5 separate regions of the Homo sapiens genome follow, and all the other regions are linked to region 5. The links are contacts of gene promoters, found by promoter capture Hi-C in blood cells and fetal thymus (Javierre and others, 2016). All regions are on one chromosome and are shown on one strand. The core of a region is centred on a gene start or on the middle of the fragment in contact, and the rest is flanking DNA. Distances in the headings are between cores, read along the strand shown. Region 1 has its middle 8.4 kb from the start of RP9. Region 2 overlaps BBS9 (Bardet-Biedl syndrome 9). Region 3 overlaps RP9 (RP9 pre-mRNA splicing factor). Region 4 has its middle 11 kb from the start of LINC00997. Region 5 holds the start of FKBP9 (FKBP prolyl isomerase 9).

Region 1 (2,700 bases), core at 151-2,650, 160 kb after region 5:
GGTTGAATAGTACTCCATTGTGTATATGTACCACATTTTCTTTATCCATTCATCTGTTGATGGACACTTAGGTTACTTCCAAATCTTGGCTATTGCAAACCAACATGCAAGTGCAGATATCTCTTCGACATACTGATTTCGTCTCTTTTGGGTATATAGCCAGCAGTGGGATTGCTGGATCATATGGTAACTCTATTTTTAGTTTCTTGAAGAACCTCCAAAGTGTTTTCCATAGTGGCTATATTAATTTACATCCCTTCCAACAGTATATGAGGGTTCCCTTTTTTCCCACATCCTCGCCAACATTTATTATTGCCTGTCTTTTGAGCATAAGCCATTTAACTGGGGTGAGATGATATCTCATTGTAGTTTTGATTTGCATTTCTCTGATGATCATATGCCTGATTGCCATTTGCATGTCTTCTTTTTAGAAATGTCTATTCAAATCTTTTGCCCATTTTTAATTGGATTATTAGATTTTTTCCTATAGAGTTGTTTGAACTCCTTATATATTCTGCTTATTAATCCCTTGTCAAAAGGGTAGTTTGCAAATATTTTCTCCCTTTCTGTGGGTTGTCTCTTCACTTTGTTAATTGTTTCCTTCTCTGTGCAGAAGTTTTTTTTAACTTAATGTGTTCCTGTTTCTCCATTTTGGCTTTGGTTGCCTGTACTTATGGGAGTTAACTCAAGAAATTTTTGCCCAATGTCCTAGGTATGTTCCCCAATGTTCTGTGTAGTAGTTTCATAGTTTGAGGTCTTAGATTTAAGTCTTTAATCTATTTTAATTTGATTTTTGTATATGGCAAGAGACAGGAGTCTAGTTTCATTCTTCTGCATATGGATATTCAGTTTACCAAACACCATTCATTAAAGAGATGGTCTTTTCCCCAGTATATGTTTTTGCCACCTTTGTCGAAAATGAGTTCACTGTGTATGAGTTTATTTCTGGGTTCTCTATTCTGTTCCATTGTCTGTGTGTCTCTGGGCCAGTACCATGATGTTTTGGTTACTATAGCTCTGTAATTTAATTTGAAGTCAGGTAATGTGATTTTTCCAGTTTTGTTCTTCTTGCTCTGGATAGCTTTGGCCATTGTGGTCTTTTGTGGATCCACGTAAATTGTAGGATTGTTTTTCTATCTCTGTAAAGAATTACATTGGTATTTTGATAGGGATTGCATTGATTCTGTAGAATGCTTTGAGTAATATGAACGTTTAAACGATATTGAGTCTTCCAATACATGAATGTGGAATATCTTTCCATTTTTTTTCTGTCCTCTTCAATTTCTTGCCTCAATGTTTTATAGTTTTCTTTTTCTTTTCTTTTTTTCCTTTTTCTTTCTTTCTTTCTTTTTTTTTTTTTTTTTTTTTTTTTTTTGAGACAGTCTTGTTCTGTCGCCCAGGCTGGAGTCCAGTGTCACAATCTCGGCTCACTGCAACCTCCACCTCCTGGATTCAAGTGATTCTCCTGCCTCAGCCTCTTAAGTAGCTGGAACTGTAGGCATACACCACCATGCCTGGTTAATTTTTGTATTTTTAGTAGAGATGGGGTTTCACCATGTTGGCCAGGCTGATCTCAAACTCCTGACCTCAGGTGATCCACTTCCCTTGGCCTCCCAAAGTGATGGGATTACAGGCATAAGCCACCACGCCTGGCCCATAGTTTTCATTGCAGAGATCTTTCACTTTGGGTAAGTTAATTCCTAAGTATTTAATTTTATGTGTGCTATTATAAATGGAATTCCTTTTTGAATTTATTTTTCAGTGTTCACTGTTGGCATATAGAAATCCTACTGATTTTTGTATGTCGATTTTGTATCTTACAACTTTACTGAATATATCAGTTCTAATAGTTTTTGGTGGAGTGTTTAGGTTTTTCCAAATATAAGGTCATATCATTTGCAAACAAGAGTAATTTGACTTCTTTCTTTCTAATTTGGATGCCTTTTATTTCTTTCTCTTGTCTGGTTGCTTTATCTAGGACTTTCAATACTATGTTGAATAATAGTGGGCATCCTTGCTGTTTTCCAGATAATAGAGGAAAGGCTTTCCATTTTTCCCCATTCAGTATGATACTAGCTATGGGTCTGCCGTATACGGCTTTAATTATGTTTAGGTATGTTTCTTCCTTGCCTAGTTTTTTGAGGGTTTTTATCATGAATGGATGTTGAATTTTATCAAATGCTTTTTCAGCATCAATTGAAATGATCATATGGTTCTTGTCCTTCATTCTGTTGATATGATGTATCACATTGTTTTACTTGCATATGTTGAACCATCCTTGCATGCTAGGGATGAATCCCATTTGGTCGTGATGAATATCTTTTAATATATTCTTGAATTTGATTTGCTAGTATTTTGATGAGGATTTTTACATCAATATTCATCAGATATATTGGCCTGTAGTTTTCTTTTTTTGATGTGTTTTTGTCTGGTTATCATATCAGGGTACTGGCCTCATAGAATGAGTTTGGAAGTATTTCCTCCTCCTCTATTTTTCAGAATACCTTGAGTAGGATTGTTATTATTTCTTCCTTAAATGTTTGGTAGAATTCAGCAGTGAAGCCACTGGGTCTTGGGCTTTTCCTTACTGGGAGACTTTTTTATTATGGCTTAAATCTCGTTACTTGTTATTGGTCTGTTTAGGTTTTGGAGTTCTTCATGGTTCAATCTTGATAGATTGTATGTGTCTAGCAATTTGTA
Region 2 (2,700 bases), core at 195-2,694, 190 kb after region 5:
GCAGGTGTCTGTAATCCCAGCTACTTGAGAGGCTGAGGCAGGAGATCGCCTGAACTTGGGAGGTAGAGGTTGCAGTGAGTTGGGATTGTGCCACTATACTCCAGCCTGGGTGACAGAGCAAGACTCCATTCCTCACTCCCCAAAAAAGCTCACTGCAGCCTCGAACTCCTGGGCTCAATTGATCCTCTCACCTCAGACTCCTGACAGTAGTTGGGACTACAGGCATGGACCACTATGCCCATCTAATTTTTTTATTCCTTGTAGAGATGGGGTCTCCCTATGTTGCCCAGGCTAATTATAGATGTTAGCCACCGTGCCCAGCCCACCATTAAATTGATGTTAGTATAATACTAAAGTTAAACTATAGATTTGATTTGGATTTTACCAGGTTTTATGTTAGATGCACTTTTTTTTTGTAGATAGTTCTAAGAAATTAATCCCAAAGAAATTGCCTTTTATTATTAGCTCCTCATAGTTACACCCTCCTGTAAACCTAGCAACCACCTATCTGTTCTACATTAGTATGATTTTGTCATTTTGAGAGTTAGAAATGTAATTATTTAATATTTTAGCTTTTTGGATTTTTTTTTCATTCAGCATAATGCTCTTGCAGTCTATCCAAGTTGCAAGTGTCAGTTATGTTTTAAATTCTTTTTTTTTTTCTCGAGATGGAGTCTCGCTCTTTTGCCCAGGCCGGACTGCAGTGGTGCTATCTCGGCTCACTGCAAGCTCTGCCTCCCGGGTTCATGCCATTCTCCTGCCTCAGCTTCCCGAGTAACTGGGACTACCCGCCCGGCTAATTTTTTGTATTCTTAGTAGAGACGGGGTTTCACCGTGTTAGCCAAGATGGTTTTGATCTCCTGACCTCGTGATCCGCCCGCCTCGGCCTCCCAAAGTGCTGGGATTACAGGTGTGAGCCACCGCGCCTGGCCTAAATTCTCAAGTTATATTGGTATGGTGTAGATGTACCATAGTGTGTTTAACCAGAACACTGAGTTTTTTTCTTTAATGTAAGTTTAAAACATCATAAAAGGGGATCAAAACCAGAGCAATGGCTAACACTTATTGAGTGCTTATTATGTGCCAGGTATTGTACTAAGTGGTCTACTGTATTCCTTTTTGTAAAAAACTAAAACTGTATATTTTTTATTTTTAATTGTGGTAAAATAATGTGACATAAAATTGAACATCTAACCATTTTTAACTATATAGTTCAGTAATGGTAAGTAAATTGACATTATTGTGCAACCAATCTCCAGAACTTCTCATCTTGCGAAGTCAACACTATATACCTATTAACAGTTCTCCTTTCTCCCTAGCCCCTGACAATCACCATTCTTAATGTTTCTGTGACTATTCTAGGTACCTCACATAAGTGGAATCATATGGTATTTGTCTTTTTGTGACTGGCTTATTTTACTTAACATGATGTCCTCAAGGTTCATCTACATAGCAGATGTCAGTTTCCTTCCTTTTTAAGGCTGCATAATATTCCATTGTATGGGTATACCACATTTTCTTTATCCATTTATCCATTGATGGATGTTTAGGTTGGTTCTGCCTCTTGGTTATTGTGAATTATGATACAGTAAATCCGTGTGTAAAAATATCTCTCTGAGATTGTCTTTAATTCTTTTGGATATCCACCAAGAAGTGGGATGGCTGGATCAAAATTTCTAGGTTTAACTTTTTTTTTTTTGAGATGGAGTCTCGCTCTGTCGCCCAGGCAGGAGTGCAGTGGCGCGATCTCGGCTCACTGCAACCTCTGCCTCCCAGGTTCATGGCATTCTCTTGCCTTAGCCTCCCGAGTAGCTGGGACTACAGGCGCCTGCCACCACACCTGGCTAAGTTTTTATATTTTTAGTAGAGACGGGGTATCACTGTGTTAGCCAGGATGGTCTCGATCTCCTGACCTCATGATCCACCCGCCTTGGCATCCCAAAGTGCTGGGATTACAGGCCTGAGCCACTGTGCCCGGCCCTATGTTTAATTTTTTGTGGGACCTACCCACTGTTTTCCATAGTAGCTACACCATTTTATATTCCCACCAACAGCGTACAGAGATTCCAATTTCTCCATGTCCTTGCCAACACTTGTTATTTTGTGTTTTTTTCTTCTTGCAATCATCATTCTTAGGTCGAATATATTTTTGTTTTTTTTGATAATGGATGTGAGGTGATATTGTTTTGATATGCAAATCAAAAATTTTGAACTGATTTTCAGTTCAAAATTAGTGATTTTGAGCATCTTTTCATATGCTCCTTGGCCATTTGTATATCTTTTTTGTTGTTGTTTGAGACAGAGCCTCACTCCGTAACCCAGGCTGGAGTACAGTGGCATGACCTTGGCTCACTGCAACCTCCGCCTCCTGGGTTCAAGCAGTTCTTTTGCCTTAGCCTCCTGAGTGGCTGGGATTACAGGTGCCCACTACCATGCCTGGCTAATTTTTGTATTTTAGTAGAGATGAGGTTTCACTATGTTGGCCAGGCTGGTCTTGAACTCTTGGCCCCAAGTGATCCTCCTGCCTCTGCCTCCCAAGATGCTGGGATTACAAGTATGAGCCACCGCACCCAGCTCATTTGTGTATCTTCTTTGGAGATGTGTCTGTTCAGGTTCTTTTGCCCATTTTTTAATGGGATGGTTTGTTTTTGTTGTTGTTGTTGAGTTGTAGGAGTTCTTTATGTATCCTGGATATTAATT
Region 3 (2,700 bases), core at 201-2,700, 140 kb after region 5:
GGCGTGAGCCACCACGCCCGGCCCAAAAGGTACATTTTTTTTAAAGTGTGTTTCAGTATATTTTTCAGAGTAAATGTTTTCATAAAGTATCTCTGCTTCTCATTTACTATTTTAGACACTATAAAAGCTTCTTTCTCAGGTTGAGTCTGTTCAAAACTCTCACTTTTAAGTAAATAAAATCACAAGTTCTCTTAGAATATTAATGGTGGCTGGGCACAGTGGCTCCTACCTGTAATCCTAGCACTTTGGGAGGCAGAGGCGGGTAGATCGCTTGAGGCCAGGAGTTCGAGACTAGCTTAGGCAACATGGTGAAACCCTATCTCTACAAAAGTACAAAAAAATTAGCTAAGCCTGGTGGCGCATGCCTGTAGTCCCAGCTATCTCAGAGGCTGATGTGAGATCACCTGATTCTGGGAGGTTGAGGCTGCAGTAAGTTGTGATCACACCACTGCACTCCAGCCCGGGTGACAGAGTGAGACCCTGTTTTCCTGACCCTGGTAGAAGGTTGTTTAATGTGTGGAAAAGGTAAAACAGAGGGTCTCTGGCCAGGGAGACCAGGGAGACATCAGGTAGGTCTGAAGGAAGCTGCTGCAATAGCCACAAAGGGTCACACGAATGAATGAAAAGCAGATGGACACATTTCCAGACTCCCTCCACTCGGCTCCCAGAACACTCATAGTATGGCTTTCCCTCCACGTGGGAGCCTTCTCTGGGAAAATATAACCCACCCAAAGAAGAAAAACCGATAGATACTGAACTCTGAGGCACGTTGTCTTTGCTTTTAACAAATAATCAAGGCAATGAAGCATTCCCATCAAAATTCTCAAGGAAACTGATTTTTAAATTAGAATTCAATATCCTGGTAGTTAAAAATCTGTTAAAGACGATTCCAGAAAAGTAAAGGTCTTAACATTTTTATCTTCTATAAACCCATTTTGAAGGTAACAGCCATAGGATTTGTTACACCATAAGGAGAGAATATGATAATAAAGAAGACTCAAGACACAGGAAAATGGGTGATCCAACACGGGAGAGAGGCTAAGGGGACCTGCAGAAAGATGGTGTCTTAGTCAGCTCGGGCTGACATAACAAAATGCCGTATTCTGGGTGGCCTAAACAACAGAAACTGGTTTTCTCATTCATTCTGTAGGTTGGAAATCTGAGATCAGGGTCCCAGCAAGGTGGGTTTGTGGTGAGAGCTTTCTTCCTGGCTTAAGATGACAGCCCTCTTTCTTCTTCACATGGCACGGTGGTGGGGGGTGGGGTGGATGCTTCCTTATCTAGAAGATGGAGAACGTGCCTTGGCTGTAAGAGGGCTGTGATGAGAACAAGTTAAATAAAAGAAGTAAACACTCTTTGTAAATTGAGGCATGTAAGTTGCATGGATTAGGGAAACTCTCCCACACTCACACTGCATAACTTTGACTTCTTTCCCCAGTGGCATCCAAAGTCCTTTAGTTGGTGCATGAGCCAGAAATTCCCTGGCGTGTTCATTGCCTGGTACATCTGGTATGCAATCTTCTGGCTTAGTCTCATCTTCCTAAAAAAGGGAACAGGTATAAACAGCATGGCAAGAGCGCTGGGATTCTCTCCTGCTCCCCTTGGAGCCACCCTTGCCTGGCTTTTTCCTGGGCTTCCGGTGCCAACATCATCTTAGTTACCCCTCAAAACTAGAAAAAAAGACAAGTTACACCTGATTGAAAAAACAGGAAACAAATGTACCAGAAGAACTATACCAAAAACAATGTAGCTGTTCTTAGAGAAAAGTTACTGGTGAAGCAGAAAAATCTGTCCTTATATAGCAATGACTGGGGAGCTCCAAATAAGATTCTGAGATTAAAAAAAAAAAGTTTCACTACCTCAAAATATAGAATTAAAGTAAACCAGGCTTCCTGGAATAATAGAAATGGCCTGTTATGCTAGAATAGTTTATTATACCCTGAAGGCCCTGTCATGTTTTACAGTCACACACATGCTATATCTCTGATGTACATTTTTACCACTCAATAACTGCATTTACAATTAATGTGTTTTCAAACTTTTGGATTTTTTTCAAGTTTCTATGAATATTAAATTTACAATAGACTCATGTTTTTAAAGAATATTTCTTCGCTGAGAGTTATGAAACAGCAAGTTTTCTTGGCCGTGGCCTGCCACTCTAAGTCTCCCTCGTGCACACACACCCTGGCACCTTGGCCAGGGAGCTGCAGGAGGGATGCCTGTACCAGGGAGCGGGACTGGATAGCTGTCAGATCTCCTCAGAGTTTACTGCTCTCTGAGCTGCTGAGCTCAAGAAACCAGCAGAGGATGGACCGAGGGGCTGAGCCGGGTGAGGCCGACAAGGAAAAGGAGCTTAGAGATGCCATCCCCAGCAAGAGAGAAGAGGGGCATGGCCAAGGAATCCACGTGGGCCTGCACTGGTTCTTCAGGGAAGGGAAACATGGCTGATGAAATTTCTGCAAAGGCAGAGGCTTGTGACAAAACTAAAAATTATGACCCCTCATTCATCTGCAGGAAAAGAAACAGGCTTTTGGTAAAAGGAGATTTAACATCATGCAATTATTTTTCATAACAAGTTACTGAGTCTACAAGTATGTCTTGTGGAATAACCAAGAGTACAAACTTCACACTAACCTTGATAAGCCCAGGAGGAGGTTTTTCGTAACTGGAAAACAAAAAACAAAACCTTATCAACCATGT
Region 4 (2,700 bases), core at 124-2,623, 190 kb before region 5:
AAACAGGGACATAAAACAGCTAGGATAAACAGAAAACACATAGGAAGATGGTGGTTTTTTTATCCAAACTTATTAGTAATTATAAGTGCAAAGAGATTAAATGCCCCAGTTAATAATCAAAGACTATCAGACTGATATACACCATAATAGATATGAAAAAATATTCTTAATAGCACTAATTATAAGAGCCTCAAATTGGAGGCAAAACAAATGCCCATTAGCAGTAGAATAGATAAATAAACTATGGTATATTTCATACAATGGAATACTTTACAGCAACAAAAAAAAATGAAGAAACTGCATATGCTTGCAGCAACATAAAAAAACTTCTAAAAACATAATATAAAGGTCAAAGACAGAGACATTAAAGATATCATATGATCTCATTTATATGAAATTCAAAACTAGCCAAAATTAAATTATCATATTTGGCAATGCACACATAGGTAATTGTATTAGTCCATTTTTCACACTGCTGATAAAGACATACCCAAGACTGGGCAATTTACAAAAGAAAGAGGTTTATTGGACTTACAGTTCCACATGGCTGGGGAGGCTTCACAATCATGGCAGAAGGCAAGGAGGAGCAAGTCACATCTTACATGGATGGCAGCAGTCAAAGAGCAACCTTGTGCAGAGAAACTCCCATTTTTAAAACCATCAGATCTTGTGAGACCCATTCACTATCACAAGAACAGTACAGGAAAGACCCATCCCCATGATTCAGTCATCTCCCACTGGGTCCCTTCCACAACACGTGGGAATTATGGGAGCTACAAGATGAGATTTGGGTGGGGACACAGAGCCAAACCATATCAGTGATAAAACTCTAAAGCAAAGCAGGAAATCACTTTTTGTAAGAGTCCAGATTGAAATATCTTTGTGGGGAGAGGGAGGAGATGTACAGAGAGGGGCTGGCAGAGTCTCTTTTTTGCTCTAGCTGGCAGGTTCAAGGGTGTTCAGGTTATTTTGGAAGCAGTGCAGAGAAGGGAGCCAGACTAGAAACAGGGAGGTGATCAACTGGGTCTCGGTTACATACAGAAAACAGCAGAGACAGCTGAAAGATCCTTCTCTGTGTTCACAGCCATCATCTATGACTAGCATCCAGTGATAGCAGGAACACTGATGCCAACATTTTTCAAAGTTTGCAGAAACGACTTGGCTCCTCCACAGAGCATTGTGAGTCAGTTCAGAAGAAATCAATATCCATCTTCTGTTCTCTTCTTGCCTGCCAAGGGGACCTGGAATCCTTAAGCTTTTGCTCCTGGTTTCCCACTTCAATATTCATCCAAAGAGTCTCCTCCTGCTTGTTTTCATTCTTTCTGCCCTTCCTTGTCCCCCAGGGTGGAGATCTCAAGTGCATAATACCCCACTATGCGGTGATGTTAGCCCCAGAGCACAGCTGAACACAGCATTCCTCAGGAGAAGATTCATCCTCTATATAGGGAACACTGGAGATATTGCTGCTCTAACCCCAAAGAACTCATCACCAAAGCTTGGGACTTTGGGCCCATGGTAGGCAACTGGAAGAGCTATTTGTGGCAAACAGTGTAACTCAAACATCATCATAACTATCTGACAGACTTTAAGGAGGCCAATCCAATGTTCTCAAGCCTGGCTGCATCATGAATCACTCAAGGAATTTATTTTTTATCCAGATTTCTGAACCCCCAACCTCGATTCTGACTTACTGGGTTCTGAGTAGAACATGGAAATCTGTATTTACAGCAACTCACCCAGGTGATTTATCCAGGTGGCTCTGGTGCAACTCTTCAATGGGATGGTAATTAGGAGCATCCCAGGGGGTCAGAGCTCACGTACCTCATGGCCAGGAACTGTGTAGGCCTCCTTTGCTTACATCTAAATGTTTTCCCCTGGTCCAACTGGAATACGAATGTTACCTCCTAAGAGTCCAACTTTATCACTTCTTCTAACCATCTAGATATCTGCTGGTAAACTCAAGACATCTCTAATTCTTCCTCTTTCCACTAGAGATTAAATGCATTTTTTTCACATAAAGATAGACTTTAATCTAATGTGGTTATGTATGCATATAAATGTCCAAATGAGAGCCAAGTTGGGAAATATGGCCATGTGTTGATGTGATGTCTTGGAACAAGGAAGGACACCTCTGCAGAGGTGTTTTGAGGGCTATACCAACATGCTGATGTGATCCCTTATCAAAGCACTCTAGAGCAGCCATTCTTAAATATTTTGGCCTCAAAAAGACCAAACAAGTCCTTTATGATTGCTTAAGTGTATTGTATGCATTGATATTTACATGGATATTTATAATCCATTCATGTTAAAACTTTAAAATGAAAAAATATTTGTTTATAAATCATTTACAAATAACAATAATAAACTCACTATATTAACAGAAATATCTTTTATATGAAAATAACTATTTTCAACAAAAATTTAGTGAGAAAAGTGACATTGTTTTAACTTTATGCAAATCTCTTTAAGTTTGACTTAATAGAAGACAGATTTTCATATCTTCTGCATTCAATCTGTTGCAATATGCTGTTTTGATGGAAATATATAAGGAAAATCAGTCCTCACAAATATGTAGTTAGCAAAAAAAAGAGTATTTTAATCTCCCTCTGCACTTAATCTGTTGCATTATAACATGCCATGTAACCTCTGGAAAATTCCACTGTACACATGACAGAACAAAAATGAAAAAGGCAAGTAACA
Region 5 (2,700 bases), core at 19-2,518:
ACCACCTCGGCCTCCCAAAGTGCTAGGGTTACAGGTGTGAGCCACTGCGCCTGGCCTAATATGCGGTTGAATCCGATTTTATTACGTTTTATTCAGTATTTTTGCATTTATATTTATAAATTAGATCGTGCCCTGTTTTTTCAGTTTTATTTTTCTTTTTTGTTGCTCTCTTTGCCAGGTTTTGGTATCAGAATTGTGTTTGCTTCCAAAACGAGTTGAGAAAGAGTTGGTGATTTGCTTTCATTATTCCAAAATTTTAATAAATTATAACACCCAATTCCAATTCCAAGTGCATCTGATTACTCTAATGGATTCCTGTGGCTTCTGGGTCTCTATGATGAAGTCCTCCCTGGCATAGGCTCGTATATGGGAGCTTGTAGGATGTCTGCAAGTATCAGCTCACAGTGCGGCCGCTGATGGCTTGGAGGACCCTCACGGTGCCTTAAAACTTTTGCCTAGACAAGTGTCACGGGAGCCTCTCGCAATACATGCCTCCCTTTTCTTTTTTTGGAGACAGTGTCTCGTACTGTCGCCAGGGCTGGTGTGCAGTGGCGCGATCTCGGCTCGCTGCAACCTCCGCCTCCCGGGTTCCAGCGATTCTCCTACCTCAGCCTCCCGAGTAGCTGGGACTACAGGCACGCGCCACCAAGCCTGGCTAATTTTTTTGTATTTTTAGTAGAGACGGGGTTTCATCATGTTGGCCAGGATGGTCTCCATCTCCTGACCTCGTGATCCGCCTGCCTTGGCCTCCCAAAGCGTTGGGATTACAGGCGTGAGCCACGGCGCCCGGCCTTCCTTTTCCTTTAAGCAGTATTAAAAAAAAAAAAAAAAAGTCCTGAAGGATGGTTTCGGTCTCTTTCAAGGTAGACCATACCCTTGTAACTAAGCTTAAAAAATTAAAATCTAATTTTCCCTCCCTCTCCAAAGCAGCAAGGGAAAATTGGATCCACGGCCACGTAGGAGCCCCTCACGGCACCAAACCCGGTGTCTCCAGGGACGGGCGGAGACCAGCGGGTGGGCTTGGGCAGTACGCGCTTTTCTCTTCCGACTTTGGGCCAAAGCCTTGTCCGGAGATCACAGTGTCTCGCTCGGGGACACGCCCTCTCTAGGCCCAGACTTGGTCCCCACTGGAGTTCCCAGCCCCCCTCCCCGCTGCGGCACGCACATTCCCAATGCCGGGCGGGGCAGGGCGCAGCAGGCCCGCCCTCGGCGCGCGGCCAGGCTGGGCTCCTCCCCTGGAGCTGCGGCCGGGAGGGCGGGCGGCCGGGGAGACGGGGTGGCGGCTGCAGCCCGGGTAGGGCCAGGAGACCCGGTCCACGTTTGCAAACGCAGCCGAACGCCCAGGCCGACCCGTGCCGCCCGAGCGCCGCGCTGCGTCCGCGCCACTCTTCTCGCCGCCCCGATGGCGTTCCGGGGCTGGAGGCCCCCGCCGCCACCGCTGCTCCTGCTGCTGCTCTGGGTGACCGGGCAGGCAGCGCCCGTGGCGGGCCTGGGCTCCGACGCGGAGCTGCAGATCGAGCGGCGCTTCGTGCCCGACGAGTGCCCGCGCACCGTGCGCAGCGGCGACTTCGTGCGCTACCACTACGTGGGGACGTTCCCCGACGGCCAGAAGTTCGACTCCAGGTACCGCGCCCTTGGCGCCCGGCGCGGCCTCAGCGGATGCGCGTCCCTCTCTCCGGACAGGCCTTTCCCTCCTGCCGGACCTCCCCTAGCTCCGCCCCGTGCAGCCGCGCTCCTCCCTTCTTCCGCTGCCCAGATCCTCCCGGACCCCAGACCCTCCGCCGCGGGTGAGCCTCCCGGCCCTCACGTGCCCTAGGCTGCCAGCCGGGGACTGGACCCTTGGAGGACCTTGAGCAGCGGGGTTGGGGCAGACCACGTCCTCCCTTTCCTCCCAGCGCATGGACACACGCAAAATCAGTGTAAAATAATCAGTGTAAGTGGAGGCCACGTTGCACAACTGGACCCCCAAGAGTGGATGTTCGTGCCTGCCTCTCTTCGCCCTTTCCTGTTCCTTCCCTCCGCTCCCTTGGGAATCTAGTCAGATGGTGCTTCTCACACAGAACAATGATGAAGAGGCTAGCAGCCCCAAACATACAATGAGCTGTTAACAATGTGTAGGTGTAGTTCTAAGTACTTTCCATATTGTAGTGAACTCATTTAATTGTACAGCAGTCTTGTGAGGTAGGTACTATCACTACCCTCATTTTATCAGTAAGGTAACAAGCAACTGCGGCTAAGAAACGTGTTTAAACAATGGAGTCAGATTGTTTAATCCAACTCCAGAGTCTGTGTGCGCAACTACCACTGCCCTTCCTTTCCTGCCATACAAAAACCTCTCTTGGGGCTGGGCGTGGTGGCTCACGCCTGTAGTCCCAGCACTTTGAGAGAACGAGGCGGGAGGATCGCTTGAGCCCAGGAGTTTGGGGCTGCTGTGAGCTATGATCGTGCCATTGCACTGCAGCCTGGGAGACAGAGAGAGATCCCATCACAAAACAAAACACAACACGACACCTCTCGTGGGCAGGAGGTAGTCCAGGACCGTCACTCTGCTTTATACCAGGCCCTATATCAAGCCCAGAACTCCTTCTCTCAGCTCTGCCTCAGGATCACAGCACTGCTCTCCCGTTTCCCTCCAGTTTAGGTTCGGGGTTAACAGGCCTCTCTTCGTCCAGCACCAGGCTACTCCTCGCCAAGGCTTTT

The links. The method cuts DNA at HindIII sites, captures the fragments that hold promoters and counts their contacts. A CHiCAGO score of 5 or more calls a contact.
Region 1: a fragment that was not itself captured here is called in contact with the fragment with the promoter of FKBP9 in region 5 in 1 of 17 cell types (neutrophils); the score reaches 6.7 in neutrophils.
Region 2: a contact is called between a fragment that was not itself captured here and the fragment with the promoter of FKBP9 in region 5, in 1 of 17 cell types (neutrophils). The highest score is 5.8, in neutrophils.
Region 3: a contact is called between a fragment that was not itself captured here and the fragment with the promoter of FKBP9 in region 5, in 1 of 17 cell types (total B cells). The highest score is 6.5, in total B cells.
Region 4: a fragment that was not itself captured here is called in contact with the fragment with the promoter of FKBP9 in region 5 in 1 of 17 cell types (erythroblasts); the score reaches 5.0 in erythroblasts.

What each region holds. Positions count from the first base shown.
Region 1 is chr7:33,116,406-33,119,105 of GRCh38, forward strand. No RefSeq gene overlaps it. Among named protein-coding and RNA genes, the nearest start is that of RP9, 8.4 kb to the left of the region's middle. The HindIII fragment of the contact is 8,233 bases long and covers 1-2,700 here.
Region 2 is chr7:33,141,289-33,143,988 of GRCh38, forward strand. All of the region lies in intron 1 of BBS9 (Bardet-Biedl syndrome 9), which reads left to right. Among named protein-coding and RNA genes, the nearest start is that of BBS9, 13 kb to the left of the region's middle. The HindIII fragment of the contact is 4,729 bases long and covers 1-2,700 here.
Region 3 is chr7:33,097,897-33,100,596 of GRCh38, forward strand. RP9 (RP9 pre-mRNA splicing factor) reads right to left here. Exons shown (of 6, transcript NM_203288.2): 2 at 2,635-2,665; 3 at 1,411-1,540. Among named protein-coding and RNA genes, the nearest start is that of RP9, 10 kb to the right of the region's middle. The HindIII fragment of the contact is 2,651 bases long and covers 126-2,700 here.
Region 4 is chr7:32,767,916-32,770,615 of GRCh38, forward strand. No RefSeq gene overlaps it. Among named protein-coding and RNA genes, the nearest start is that of LINC00997, 11 kb to the left of the region's middle. The HindIII fragment of the contact is 240 bases long and covers 1,254-1,493 here.
Region 5 is chr7:32,956,172-32,958,871 of GRCh38, forward strand. FKBP9 (FKBP prolyl isomerase 9) reads left to right here and starts at 1,269. Exons shown (of 10, transcript NM_007270.5): 1 at 1,269-1,623. The coding sequence starts at 1,403. RefSeq lists enhancers at 116-1,066, 916-965 and a silencer at 1,056-1,525. The HindIII fragment of the contact is 4,605 bases long and covers 886-2,700 here.